Regions from separate parts of the Homo sapiens genome. Here all the other regions are linked to region 2. Evidence: promoter capture Hi-C in 16 types of primary human blood cells and fetal thymus (Javierre and others, 2016). All regions are on one chromosome and are shown on one strand. The core of a region is centred on a gene start or on the middle of the fragment in contact, and the rest is flanking DNA. Distances in the headings are between cores, read along the strand shown.

What was found. Contacts are between HindIII fragments. The CHiCAGO score rates a contact against its expected background, and 5 or more counts as called.
Region 1: a contact is called between a fragment that was not itself captured here and the fragment with the promoter of SIRT4 in region 2, in 3 of 17 cell types (naive CD8 T cells, non-activated CD4 T cells and naive CD4 T cells). The highest score is 5.6, in naive CD8 T cells.
Region 3: a contact is called between a fragment that was not itself captured here and the fragment with the promoter of SIRT4 in region 2, in 1 of 17 cell types (M2 macrophages). The highest score is 5.0, in M2 macrophages.

What each region holds. Positions count from the first base shown.
Region 1 is chr12:120,695,326-120,698,504 of GRCh38, forward strand. It overlaps MLEC (malectin), which reads left to right. Exons shown (of 5, transcript NM_014730.4): 5 at 991-3,179. The coding sequence ends at 1,220. Among named protein-coding and RNA genes, the nearest start is that of MLEC, 9.8 kb to the left of the region's middle. The HindIII fragment of the contact is 1,687 bases long and covers 1,000-2,686 here.
Region 2 is chr12:120,300,846-120,303,826 of GRCh38, forward strand. SIRT4 (sirtuin 4) reads left to right here and starts at 1,476. Exons shown (of 4, transcript NM_012240.3): 1 at 1,476-1,533; 2 at 2,716-2,981. The coding sequence starts at 2,717. The HindIII fragment of the contact is 5,713 bases long and covers 1,449-2,981 here.
Region 3 is chr12:120,560,269-120,563,156 of GRCh38, forward strand. It overlaps RNF10 (ring finger protein 10), which reads left to right. Exons shown (of 17, transcript NM_014868.5): 7 at 458-618; 8 at 2,677-2,802. Among named protein-coding and RNA genes, the nearest start is that of POP5, 20 kb to the right of the region's middle. The HindIII fragment of the contact is 487 bases long and covers 1,348-1,834 here.

The sequences.
Region 1 (3,179 bases), core at 593-3,092, 390 kb after region 2:
GGAGTCAGGTCTATGTATATCTTGTTGCTGCCATTTAATCAGATGTTTGTCTTGGATGGATGCTTTTAATTTCCCTATAAATTGGGATTAATAATGGTACCTATTGGTGTACCCTGACCTTTGTAGTCATTTGGGATCACCTAAAACTTGTCCTTATTCTGTTTGTTTGACATCTCTTTCCTAGGGGAAAAAAAGGTAAAAGGAGGAGTCCTGTAGGCTTTTGGTATGCTCTGAAAGATTCCAGCATTGCTGGACTGCACTGGGACAAAACTTCACTTATTTATGTCTCCTTATCCTTGGGATCAAGTCTTAGAGTATATTTCTTTCTCAGGGTTTAGATTCTCCTGGCTGCCAGCATCTCAGGCTGATTTTTGCAGAGAAAGCTGCGTCTTTGTGACATTTCTCCCCCATTCCACCTCTGTACCTTTCCCCAACTCAATCTTGAATGCACTGAGGATTTCATCCTGTTGTCTTGATGTCCCCCAAATGCTGATATTATGACATCTAGGAGGATGAATGTCTTACCACCAAACAGACCTGTGTTCAAGTCCCTGAGGAGGAGGCAGGACAGAGGGATAGTGTGTGCTGGGAACCCAGAACTCTCTGGGTCAACGTTTCTTCAGTTGTTGTGTGAATCAAAAGGGAATGTGGGCTTGTGGGAGGAGGAGGGATTTGAAAAGGCTAAAGTTTAGGCATTGGATCATTGTCCCTGTCCAGTCTGGTTATCTTGGGGCTCTGTAAAAGTAGAACAGGAAGGTAAGATAGTGAACCTCCCTATGAGCACGGCTTTTTCTACTTTCTAGTTAAATCTAAAGCTTTTGCAGCACTCTGCTGTTCTGTAGACCAGAGGCTATTTCTGCTACTTCTGGTCTTTTCTCTGGACCCGGGTTCAATCACAGCAATCTCTTTATTGTGGCTTATTTGCTGCTTTTAAGGGTCTCTCTTACTTAAATGCTGTGGGTCTTAACAGTGTTTTCTTCCTTGTGTTAGATGTACCAAAGCTTCAGCCTCATCCGGGATTGGAGAAGAAAGAAGAGGAAGAAGAAGAAGAAGAATATGATGAAGGGTCTAATCTCAAAAAACAGACCAATAAGAACCGGGTGCAGTCAGGCCCCCGCACACCCAACCCCTATGCCTCGGACAACAGCAGCCTCATGTTTCCCATCCTGGTGGCCTTCGGAGTCTTCATTCCAACCCTCTTCTGCCTCTGCCGGTTGTGAGAACAAATGACTATCCTGAACAGGGTGGAGGGGTGTGGGAAAGAAACCAGCCATATTGGTTTTGGTTTCTGTATTTTTCACAATGATTAATGAACAAAAACAAAGAGAAAAAAACACACATCAATTAAAGGAGACAAAAAGAGGCAGAGCGAGTAGAGAGCAGCCCTCATTCACCACCTGGTCCCAGACGTGCTTCAGTCCTCGTCCTCTCTTTGTGGCTGGCTCCCAGCCTTCTCTTTCCTCTTGAGGATACTTAGGGTAAACTGGATCCTTCCTGCTCAAGGATCCTCATTTGTATACCTAGTGGAAAGGACTCTGAACTCAGAGGAGTCACTGTTCCTTTTTTTAGGTTAGAAATTAACAGCAGGGAAATGCCATCTTATTACCTGAGACGACCAGCACTGGGAGTTAGGTACGGTCTGAAGTTATGTCTAGATAAGACTTCAGACGTCCTGGGATTGAAAGAATGTGTGTGAAGGGGTAGAATTTGTGCGGTAAAGACTTAAAAAAAAAAGTAGGGAGATTAAAAAAAAAGAAAGAAAATGCTTCCTTATCTGGAAGCCTTTCTGGATTAATCCAGTGATGGTCCCACCTTTAGTGTTTGAGCTTTGTCATTGCTTGTCTCCCTGGCATGTGCCAGTTATAGACTGTCCAGCATCCAAGACGTTTCGGTTATGTCGGGTCCTCAGATCGCCTCTGACTTGTTACCACAACAAATCATTTTGATTTCAGTGCCTGTTGGGGACTTGATTTCTTCTCAGTTTTGTTTGTTTGTTTGTTTCCTTAATCTGGCTCATTTGAAATTTCTTCTCCCTCTCAACCATCCCACTAAGTTATAGCCAAGAAGGGAAGGAGACACGGGGATTTGGGGTTCTCTGCTTGAATGTCTTCTCCTTTACCACCTCACCTTGTTGGTACCTCCCTCCCTGGATCTCTGAGCCAGCAGCCAGGAGGACCTGACCCAGCAGTTCTTTACTGGCCCCTTTGTAGGGCCTTGCTGCCAGGGGGCAGGGATGCTTTCCAGCCTGCAGCAACAGAACACTTGACCTTAAAAGTCTCTTCTGGTCTTTGGATTAGAAAAGGCTTATGTTAGCATAGCTTAAGAGCAACCTCAGAGATTTGAGCCCTACTAAGTGACTGACCACTGTTTAGAGTGTCTGGTATCTGATGTTCATTTATTCCCATGTTCTTGTGTGTCACAGTTCAGCCAGTTTTGGTTTATGCCTAGAGCTACTTCAAGGAACTAGACTAATTAGCTATATAGGCCCAGCGATGCTTCTTATTGATCTTAATAGTATGCCCCTCCTTCCCCTGTCCTTTCATTTCTCTATCCAAGTAGCAGTCAGGTTCTTGGTGTGATGGGACTGAAAGAATTCCAGTCAGCCAGAGCCTTGGCAGCTCTGAAGCTAACCTTAGCATCTAAGTGTCGATCTTGAATTCCCTGAAAAAATTTCTATAGGAAATGAAGCTTCCCTGGTCCCCTCCTTTCTGGCCATTGTCATCCATTTCCCAGTTAGGGCAACAATGAAGGAGGACCCAGCCAAGCTAGAAGGAATTTTGTGGATGGGAGACAGCAGGATTAGCTTCAGCTTGGGCTGGAGCAGTCAATATAGGATCTCAGGCCAGGCCCGCTTTTCTAGAATGTGTTTAATTTTGAGTTTGCTTTATTAGATATGTTTTTTAAGAGCTCTGTATATTTGAACTGCTCCTTATGTGACAAAATAGGTAGCTCTTGGGCTCATGTCCTGGGTTTTGGCTCTTTAATGATTACTCCAGGCCAGCATTTAGTCGTTTGAGAATTGTAGCCTGTTGTTTTCGCTGTGACTTGGGTCTCAGTGCTAGGGTATTGAGTCAGGCAGCTGGAGGGTTGTGGCCCGAGGCTGCAGTCAGAGGTATACTTCCCATAGTGCTTCACACAGCTCCCCTGCTTCTAAAGGATAAGGTACTGTAGCCTTGGTC
Region 2 (2,981 bases), core at 226-2,725:
ATTTAGGTGATGCTGCAGAGCGGCAGTTCTGGTTGTCTACACATTAGGAACAATTAGGAAATTTGTAGATCAGAATCCCTGGGAGTGAGACGCAGGCCTTGTTTGATTAACTTAATAAAAAAAATATGATAAATAAAATTGGAGAAGCCAAGCAGGTTAAGTACATTAGTCCAGGTATAATATATTTGGCTTCATATTAACTGTAAAAACATCACTTTTGGCTGGGCACAGTGGCTTACGCCTGTAATCCCAGTACTTTGGGAGGCTAGGGTGGGCAGATCACGAGGTCAGGAGATCAAGACCATCCTGGCTAACATGGTGAAACCTTGTCTCTACTAAAAATAAAAAAATTAACCGGGCGTAGTGGCATGCGCCCATAATCCCTGCTACTCAGGAGGCTGAGGCAGGAGAATTGCTTGAACCCGGGAGGCGGAGGTTGCAGTGAGCCGAAATGGCACCATTGCACTCCAGCCTGGGCAACAGAGCGAGACTCCGTCTCAAAAACAAACAAACAAACAACAACAACAACAACAACAAACTATCACTTTTTCAGATATGTATAAACACATTTCTTCACAAGTTCAAGGTATTTTACCAATAGCAAATAACTTGATACTGTCGTTGTGAATGAAAAGGATCACAAACTCTGATGTTTAGAATGAGTCAAATCTAGGCCGGGAACAGTGGCTCAGGCCTGTAATCCCAGCATTTTGGGGGGCCGAGGTTGGCGGATCACCTGAGGTCGGGAGTTCGAGACCAGCCTGGCCAACATGGTGAAACTCTGTCTCTACTAAAAATACAAAAACTTTAAAAAAAAGTCAAATCTAGATCCATGATTAATGACGTGCTCATTTCACATTGCATGTTTGTATCAAAACATCTCATGTGGGTAAAGCATAGACAGGCACAGAGAAAAGAAAAAAAGACAAAAAATAAGAGAAAAGATGGCCGGGCGCAGTGGCTCACGCCTATAATCCCAGCACTTTGGGAGGTCAAGGCGTGCGGATCACCTGAGGTTAGGAGTTCAAGACGAGCCTGGCCAACATGGCGAAACCCCCGTCTCTACTAAAAATACAAAAATAATCCCAGCTACTCGGGAGGCTGAGGCAGGAGAATCGGTTGAACCCGGGAGAGGGAGGTTGCAGTGAGCCGAGATCGTGCCACTGCACTCCAGACTGGAGTTTTTTCAAAAAAAAAAAACAACAACTCCGTCTTAAAAAAAAAAAAGAAAAAAGAAAAAAAATCTTATGTACACTATAAATATATACACCTACTAAGTGCCCACAGAAATTGAAAACAAAGAAAAAAATCCATGATTAAAAGCTTTTATATTAACGGGGGAACCTCTGACCAGAAAGAGCCGACAGGGGGCGTTCCTGGATGATCTGGGGCTGTCAATTGCGAGACGCGGAGGATTGTGGGACTTGTGGTTTTTCTCGCATCATTTAAGCTTTCTGGACTACATGTCCCAAAATGCAAATGCAATCAGACGGTCCCACTGTGGGGTGTGAAGTGTCCGTAGAGCTGTGAGAGGTAAGTGTGTTCTGTGTGTGCTGCGGATTTCTAGAAGTTGTGGATTTCTTGTGAGGGATTCTATTTCTCCTCTTTGCCCTCGGTGGGACCTGGAAGAGAGTAGTTGTTCCACTGATGCACGTTTTCAGCGGGGGTTTCCCCTGACCCTTTGGTCTCGGGAAACCGGACTGTGTGTTTGTTCAGCTGTTCACGTTTTGCTGTGGAATGTCAAGGAGAAAGCGGGGTCCTGATCTCAGATCTGGAAAGCCAAACATAAAATAATGTTTACATACGGGGTGCATGTCACTAGAGGATTTATGCATTGCATTGTGTCAAATAATATGTCAAAGTTTTTTCTTTTTCTTTTTTTTTTTTTTTTTGATACGGAGTCTTGCTTCTTCGCCCAGGCTGGAGTGCAACGGCGCGATCTCGGCTCACTGCAACCTCCGCCTCCCGGGTTCAAGCAATTCTCCTGCCTCAGCCTCCCTAGTAGCTGGGATTACGGGCACGTGCCACAATGCCCGGCTAATTTTTTTTGTATTTTTAGTAGAGTCGGGGTTTCACCATGTTGGCCAGGCATGTCTCGAACTCCTGATCTCAAGTGATCTGCCTGCGTCGGCCTCCCAAAGTGCTGGGATTTCAGACGTGAGCCACCGCACCCGGCCCTCTATTGTTACAGCTAGAAAAGCTGACGGGCAGGGGTCTTGTCTCTCTGATGTGTCCAAGTAGCAGAGCTTGCAGTGGAGGGTAAACTAAAATAAGGGGGAAATGAAAAAATAAAAGGAATGCGTGTGTGTGCTTAATTACATGAACAAAATCAAACAAAACCTGACTCATTAGGGCCAGACTCAGAGGCTCACACCTGTAATTCCAGCACGTTGGGAGGCCGAGGCGGGCAGATCACTAGAGCTCAGGAGTTCGAGACTAGCCTGGCCAACATGGTGAAACCCTGCCTCTACTAAAAATACAATAATTAGCCGGGCATGGTGGCCATGTAGTCCCAGCTATTCTGGAGGCTGAGGCAGGAGAATCACTTGAACCCGGGAGGCGGCGGTTACAGTGAGCCAAGATCATGCCACTGTACTCTAGCCTGGGCAACAGAGGGAGACTCTGTCTCAAAAAACAAAACGAAAACAAACAAACAAAAAATGAGAAAAAAAAAAAACCACCCCAGTTTCTCACATGAGGCTTCTTTTTCTCTAGAATGAAGATGAGCTTTGCGTTGACTTTCAGGTCAGCAAAAGGCCGTTGGATCGCAAACCCCAGCCAGCCGTGCTCGAAAGCCTCCATTGGGTTATTTGTGCCAGCAAGTCCTCCTCTGGACCCTGAGAAGGTCAAAGAGTTACAGCGCTTCATCACCCTTTCCAAGAGACTCCTTGTGATGACTGGGGCAGGAATCTCCACCGAATCGGGGATACCAGACTACAGGTCAGAAAAAGTGGGGCTTTATGCCCGCACTGACCGCAGGC
Region 3 (2,888 bases), core at 341-2,840, 260 kb after region 2:
AGCCTCCCAAGTAGCTGGGATTACAGGCATGCCCTACCAGGCCCGACTAACTTTTTTGTATCTTTAGTAGAGACGGGGTTTCACCATGTTGGTCAGGCTGGTCTCGAACTCTTGATCTCAAGTGATCCACCCGCCTTGACCTCCCAAAGTGCTGGGATTACAGGTGTGAGCCATGGTGCCTGGCTGGTTTGAGCTTTTCTGATATTACATACAATGCTGTAACAATAAACGCGTGACTAAAGTTTTGACTACATCTCTGGGTTTCTTAGATTTCTTATATCAAGAGCAGAGCTACAGACCTTATTTTAAGACCATTGTTAAATTATTTTCTAGGAAATCATGCTAAATTACCCCATTTTCACCCCAGAGAAAAGGCTGTATTTGAAAATTCCTATTTAGCTACACCATCGTGAGCTTTGAATGTTGCATTTCTTTGATCTTGCTGGCATTCTTATAGATGAACAGCACAGCCAGTACTCCAAGTTGCTGCTGGCCTCTAAGGAGCAGGTGCTGCACCGGGTAGTTCTGGAGGAGAAAGTAGCACTAGAGCAGCAGCTGGCAGAGGAGAAGCACACTCCCGAGTCCTGCTTTATTGAGGCAGCTATCCAGGAGCTCAAGGTGAGAGGATGCATTGGAGATGCTAAACCTTTTCACTTTCTCGGCGTTCTGTGGTGAAAACCAGAAATGCTAAACCTTTTCACTCTGTCGGGGGTGAGATGATGGACGCTGGGGATTAAGTTAGTTCCATTCCACATTTAAGACAATAAGCAGAGAATGGCTAAAAAAGCCAATTTGTTTTGGGCTTTGTTTGATGACAGTAGAGAAGGTTTAACCTAGGGCTTTTAAAGCTCTTTCTAGAGCTGAAAGGAGCAAGTCAAAATGATTTTATAACTAATTGTGACAGTGGAGTTTTTTAGATTAGCTATGTTCTTAAAGCAAGTTAGAGTTCTTTGTTTTCTGGGAAAATACTTAAGATTCTATTCTAGAGGTGTTTTGAAAGACATTGTGGAGAAAGTATTATGGCCTGCCCAGTATGCCTTAGGAGTACCTGAAACGGCAAGAATTACACAAGAACAGAATTCCCTGGGTCTTTTATCTTCCACAACAGAGATTCTTGAAGCATCACAACCACTGGTTGTTAGGTCCCACTTTGAGATATTGATTGCATAGGTTAAGCTCAGTAGGCTCAGTAATTTGCATATAACAAGTTCTAGGGTGATTCTGATGGCTGCTCATCCCCAGACCACACTCCTGGAACCACTGATCTAGCTTAGAGCAATAGAAGCCCATATTTATTGAGTGATCAGCATTTGATAGGACTTGTGCTATACACATTTATCTCACTTAAGCTTCTAGTGTGGTAGATAGAACTATCCCCTTTCATGGATGAGGAAACTGAATCCTGGGTTGGGTAATTTGCTAGTAAGGGATGCAGCTGGTATTTGAATTCCCTTCTCCCTGACTCCCAAGGGCTCCTTGGGTAGAGTCCTGTGTATTTAACTTTTGCTTTCTTTCTATAATACGTTGCAGCCGTATTTGTTCAAATGCCATTACAGGCATAAGAAAGGCTACATAGAATTAGAGCTGTCCAGGCTGAGGTGGAGTTAGCTAAATCCTTCCTACTACTCTGGACCTCTGTCTGAGCATAGTTTGTAAAAACTAGGTTAGTTTCATGTTCTTAGATTTCTGTTCTGGAAGTTTTTTGTATAGTGTTGTTTGTGTCAGATTCTCTTTTATTTTTTTTAACTTTTAAGTTCAGGGGTACAAATGCAGGTTGTTACATGGTAAACCTGTGTCATGGGGGTTTGTTATACAGATTTTCACCCAGGTATTAAGCTTAGTACCCATTGGTTATTTTTCCTGATCCCCTCCCTCCTCCCACTCTCCACCCTCTGATAGGCCTCAGTGTGTGTTCCCCTCTATGTGTCCATGTTTCATCATTTAGCTCCCACTTAGAAGTGAGAACATGTGTGCGATATTTGGTTTTTCTTTTTCTTTCTTTCTTTTTTTTTTTTTTTTTTTTGAGACAGAGTTTTGCTCTCGTTGCCCAGGCTGGAGTGCAGTGGCGTGATCTCGGCTCATCACAACCTCTGCCTCCAAGGTTCAAGTGATTCTCCTGCCTCAGCCTCCTGAGTAGCAGGAATTACAGGCATGCCCCACCATGCCTGGGTTATTTTGTATTTTTAGTAGAGATGGGGTTTCTCCATGTTGGTCAGGGTGGTCTTGAACTTCCAACCTCAGGTGATCCGCCCACCTCAGTCTCCCAAAGTGCTGGGATTACAGGCATGAGCCACCACACCTGGCCGTATGTGTCTTTACAGTAGAATGATTTATATTCCTTTGGCTATATACCCAGTAATGGGATTGCTGGGTGAAATTTTATTTCTGTCTTTAGGTCTTTGAGGAATCACCACACTGTCTTCCACAATGATTGAACTAATTTACACTCCCCAGTGTCAGATTCTAAGCAGATTCCAATCCTTAGTGGGTATTGCATGCTTTTTGCTTCCTGTTTCCCTCAAAGTTGAGATATTTAAGCACCTAATTCCTTCCCATTGGGTCTCATTGCCTTTTAACTTTTGGTCCTGTTGAGAGGCCATTCTAAGCCCTTGCCCTTCAAGCTAAGTGTGTGTCTGGAAACTTAACCTTCTCTGGTGTTCTCTCTGGCCACGTTAGACTCGGGAAGAGGCTCTGTCGGGATTGGCCGGAAGCAGAAGGGAGGTCACTGGTGTTGTGGCTGCTCTGGAACAACTGGTGCTGATGGCTCCCTTGGCGAAGGAGTCTGTTTTTCAACCCAGGAAGGTTAGTGTGTTCCTGTTACTAAGTGGCTGCCGTTCCTCAAATGCTGTCATTGAGCTGGTAGGCATTACTGTGAGATCTAAACCTTC